2 separate regions of the Homo sapiens genome follow, and region 2 is linked to region 1. Evidence: promoter capture Hi-C in human tissues and cell types (Jung and others, 2019). All regions are on one chromosome and are shown on one strand. The core of a region is centred on a gene start or on the middle of the fragment in contact, and the rest is flanking DNA. Distances in the headings are between cores, read along the strand shown.

Evidence for each region. The method cuts DNA at HindIII sites, captures the fragments that hold promoters and counts their contacts. A contact is called where the count stands out against the background at its distance.
Region 2: a fragment that was not itself captured here is called in contact with the fragment with the promoter of CHCHD3 in region 1 in 2 of the 25 tissues and cell types used here (dorsolateral prefrontal cortex and hippocampus).

Annotation. Positions count from the first base shown.
Region 1 is chr7:133,080,783-133,083,359 of GRCh38, forward strand. It overlaps CHCHD3 (coiled-coil-helix-coiled-coil-helix domain containing 3), which reads right to left and starts at 1,308. Exons shown (of 8, transcript NM_017812.4): 1 at 1,075-1,308. The coding sequence starts at 1,155. It also overlaps the pseudogene RNU6-92P. RefSeq lists enhancers at 1,041-1,675, 1,091-1,270, 1,481-1,590. The HindIII fragment of the contact is 7,286 bases long and covers 1-2,577 here.
Region 2 is chr7:132,737,966-132,740,542 of GRCh38, forward strand. No RefSeq gene overlaps it. Among named protein-coding and RNA genes, the nearest start is that of FLJ40288, 90 kb to the left of the region's middle. RefSeq lists an enhancer at 2,465-2,577. The HindIII fragment of the contact is 3,867 bases long and covers 1-2,577 here.

The DNA.
Region 1 (2,577 bases), core at 58-2,557:
AACAGTTTCAGAAGAAAAAGTTTTTAAACATTTTAAATATTTAAGAAGTTTTATTTCCTGGTAACAACTGTTAAAAATAATTTACAAATGTAATTTATTTACGCTGGTTGATAACAGAAAAAAATATATAAATTATTATAAAACTTTCTGAAGTCAAAATTGCTTTATTTACTAGGTTCAGGCATCATACGTCCAAAAATGTGAGGCTCCAAATTCAGGCGCAGCGGAGAGTGTGTTAATGAAGTTAGTGCTGGTATACTGACACCCTAGAGAAAAACCAGGTTTTCAGTTTATGTATCAGGTGCATGCAAAGGGCATTAAAAAAAAAGTGCTCTACAACGTTGGTCAGAAATGACTACATTACTTCTACTGGTATGAAAAACTGCAAACCCATCTCAGCCCCTATCAGACTGGCAGACACTAGTCCTGAAGCAACTGGGCCTAATCCAAAACTTCGGCGCAGCAGGTCACAGAGGAGGCGCCTGGGAAAGAGGAGATATCAAGTGAAAGTGAAGCAGGGAGAAGCCAGAAGCCGCCCCAGGCAGGTCAGAAAAGACTGTGGGGCTGGGAGGGAGGATGACAGGGTGTGGGGAGTGGGTGGGAGGAGGGGGTGTTATCAGAGGGAGAGCACTAAATGACACAAAGCAAAGGCAATCCTTAAAATGCCAATTCACCCTGGGAGACAGGGTGTGCACAGTGGAAAAGCAGGGTTTGGGTCCTGAACCCAGGAAAACCATTTCACAGACAAGTACACCGAGGTATGGGTTTCAAATACGGTCCTGCAACAAGGGAGCAGTACAGTTACGAGTAGACTGTGAGCCCTTGCAGGGTATAATTCAACCTGGCATTCCCCGCCCGCCCCAGCAGTGCCTAGCACTTGGCACAACCAGGAACTATCTCTGAATGAATGTCCCACGTCTTGAAACTCTAGGCTTCTTCCCAGACACCTGGGCTTCTGGCCTTAATACGCTAGGGTCCAGGACGGGAGAAACCCAGGCTGAGCGGGTCCGGAGAAGATGGGGCCTTGGGGTCCGAGTCCAACCACTGGCCCTCCGCCCGTCCACGGGCACTCACCCGGATGCCCTTCACCACGGTGATGTTCTCATTCTCGTCCGCCTCGAAGGTGACCCGGCGGGTGCTGGTGGTCCCACCCATGATTCCGGTTCCTGCCCCAGCGGAGACCTAGCGGGGAACCACGAGCACTTCGGGGCCCCCGCACCCACACGCGCGTGGAAGGGCCTGGATTCTTTTCCCGCACAGCGGGAGCAAGGCCACGACCCCCAGAAGCAAGGAGAAGGCGCCGGTCCTGAGCTCCCGCCTCCTCCGGTCACGCGCCACAACAAAAACGCCTCAGGTTGGTCGGCGATGCGAACTGCCCGCCTCTGTTCGGCGAGGGCGCCCGGATTGGTTCACCCGACCCGGATGCTATGGCAACAGGTGGTGTTTGATAGCTTTCCGCGGAGTCCCTGGGTGTAGTGGGAACTGTGGTCTCGATCTGGCGCGGTGGGTGATGGGACATTCTCTCCCCGCGCCTGAGCGCGCTAAGGGAGCACGGCATTCTGGGAGTTGTGGTTTTGACTCCCCAGAGACGCCTAACTGGGCAACTTTTTGAAGACATAATTCTAGAAATTTAGGCCACTAAGTTCAGAGACACAATCTTTCTCTCAAAGGGACTCACAGTTTAATGAAAAAGATGCATGATACTAATGAAGCCATTCCTAGTGTTCTATACACAAATTCCTGGCTCAAAACTTAGCGTTTCATTACAGTCGTAGGGTAGCTTAATGAAGACTACTTCTGAGAAATGCCTCGTTAGGTGACCCTGTGATATCTGTGGTTGTGCAAACATCATAGAGTGTACTTACACAAACCCAGATGGTGTAGCCTACTACACACCTGGGCTACTTGGTGTAACCTATTGCTCCCAGGCTGCAAAGATGTACAGCATGTCACTGTACTAAATACTGTAGGCAATTGTAACACAGTGGTATTTGTGTGTACAAATATATGTAAACATAGAAAAGCTACAGCAAAAACAGTGTAAAAGTGATTGCTTTGGCAACACATCTAGGACAATTTGAACAATACAGAGATTAGCACAGCCCCTGAGCAAGGTTGACACATGAATTTCTGAAGCATTCCATTAAAAAAAAAATCAAAGATAAAAAATGGTATGCTTCTATAGGGCACTTACCATGAATGGAGCTTACAGGACTGGAAGTTGCCCTGAGTGAGTCAGTGAGTGAGTGGGGAGTTGAATGTGAAGGCCTGGGACGCAACTATGCAGTACTGTACCTTTTATCAACACTGTGCACTTAGGCAACACTAAATTTATTTTCATATATTTTCATTCTTCAAGAATAAATTGACCTTAGCTTACTGTAACTTTTTAAACTTATAAACTTCTTTTTTTGTGACTTTTTGACTCTTTAATAACACTTAGCTTAAAACACAAACACACTATATAGCTGTACAAAAATATTTCTTTCTTTATATACTTAGTCTATAAGCTTTTTCTATTTTTGAAATTATTTACTTTTTACTTTTTAAACATTTTTGTTAAAAATTAAGACAAAC
Region 2 (2,577 bases), core at 42-2,541, 340 kb before region 1:
CCTTGCTTCCTGAGGTCAGGATACTGTTCTATACCTTTGATCACTCATTATTTCCTACTCATTGTAAGTGCTCAATAAATATCTGTTAAGAAATGAATGGGAAAAGAGTCTCTCCCAGGGAGCAAAATTCTTTTGAGGAGTTGTCTATGGCAAGACTTTCACTAAACAGAGCCATTCAAAGATGTAATGAATACAGGAAGCCTCCTATCACTGAGGCACTCACAAACAGGCTTGTTGGGAATGCCAGGCGGGTGACTGACATCTCAGATGGGGCCTGGGGAGGGCGAGGCAGGGGTGGTGGTGGGGGCTAGGAGTGGATGAAATCGCTTCTAACTATTTCATCTTGTGGAAAGCATCTGGGGCTTTGAAAGTCATATGGATGCAGGATCCCTAATATAACACTCACTTGACTCACATAGCCTTTGTTTGAACACGTGGTCCAATCTCCTTTCTTGGTTTTCAGGTTTTCATTAAAGAGGAATGGTGCCAGGAATGGCACTGTCAGCCCTGACTCATCCATCCTCCTGGACTTAATCAGGACTGACCTCCCAAAGGGATGAGGTTTAGGGTGGAACATTCTAGACAGTCATCAACTTAGAGCAGTATTTCCCAAAAAGCTGCTTCTCAGAGGTCTATTAGAAGTCTTGTAAGTAAATAAATAGAGGTTGAGTTTGAGTGGAGGGGTCTGCATGATCAAATAAGTTTAAGAAATGTTGCATATTATACTCCCCTCTTAGATGTTAGCAGTATACGCAGTATACATTTAGCAATAAAAGACTCTAAGAAACCTTGCAATGTAGAAATCTGTTTGATTTCATCCAACCCAGCATATTTTCCAGGCTGGTTTTGTCACAAGACACTTCTTTCGGAAGGCAGGTTTAAGAAACAATAACCCTGACAAGTAATAATCAAGAAAGCCACAATTTAGGACTAGGGCTCAACACCTGAGTGTCCCAGGTCAGTGGGTTTAGCCTCTCAGGGCAGACAGAATGCCCATAAACATTTGTCCCTGAAACACAATGATTTGGGGGATCATCCCAGCCCTGAATTGGGGCTGATGCAGGTTCACACCCTGTGCCTTGCATGATATCAGTAACTACCCTGGATAGCTTGGAAGCAGTCAGAAACCTACAATTAACCAGAGGGATGGCAGTGTGGAGGGAAACACAGAACGTCCTCTTTTCTACTTTTCTTTCATCTCTTTCCCCATTTCCACTCTCATTTCTGGTTTCCTTTCACAACCTGTTACATATGTATCTGCTAGACATCCAGAAAGTTACTCCCGAAGAGTCTCCCTCTCCCCACCACCTCTCCAGATCAGCAGAAACATTAGGAGACCAAGAAAACATTACAAAGTCCTTGTTGATTAGGTTCGCATTATCTTATAACTTTCAGTAGAATTTTGGGTCCTTATGGAAACTAACTTTAAGATGATCCAGTTTAACCTGCTTCCTCTCTGAGGTCCAGAGGGGTAACATGGCTTTCCCAAGGTCACACAACTAGTGAGTGCAAGAGCTAGACTCCAACTGAGGTCTCCTGTCTCCAAGAATGGTGTTATTTCTACTGCACTGCAGCAGTCTGTTCATTATGTAAATCCCCAGAGCATCAGCTTGAGTCCCCAAAAAAGATCAAATCATGATTTATGTCACTTCTAAGTTTACAGAGGATTACATTCAGAATTCTCTTCCCTGTGAGGTCAGAGCCATGCTTCCCATCACAGACTGGGATGGTACCCAAGCCAGCACAGTTGTGCATGCAGAATGACAGCCTCCACATTTAGACAATGACTCATCCCTTCGAATATCGCTGGGCTTGGAATGACTTGAAAGAGAAGGAAGGAAGGATAGCGATGTTGAAATCTCAGTGGTGTGCTGATGGAGACACACTCCTGCGAATGAAAACCAAAAATGAATGCTTCTGTTCCCTCCCTCACTGGCTGATACTCAATTAAAACTTTGATACCAATAAAACTTTGAGAGCCAGGCATTGCTTTAATAAGGAAAAGACTGAGTTATACATGCAGGAAAATGTCTACAAACATCCTAAACTTGATTGCTTTTTGGGTAATGCTAATTTGTGAAGATCAGTGAGAAATGCACGTGGGATGTAAAGACAAGTTAGTGGTCCACACTGATGAACAGGACTTTGCTGTTGATGCCTGCTGCAAATGTGGGAAATAATCTCCAGTCACTGCCCTCCAAAAGCTAACAATTTAATGAGAAGCCAGAATGAACACTTGGCAGAAACACACAAGTATATGGTATTTAATTTAAAGAGAACATCATATTCTGGCGTTGGAGAAAAACATCAAGGACGATCCAGGTGAGATGGAGTTAATCAAAGAGGACTTACTGAAGAGGTATGAGCTTTGTGCCACGAGATTTGGAAGGAAGGAAAGACCAGATGGCAAGAAGGCTAGGAAGCAGATGCCCAAAGCAGGTGAATGGCTTGTACATACGCCCAGAAGAGGAGAAATGGTGAATGCAGCAAATCCTCACATCAGGAAGATAAGGCTGTTTATATTTACATATTTCTGTACACTTCTCAAAGCAAGTTACCCCATTCTATGTGGACGAT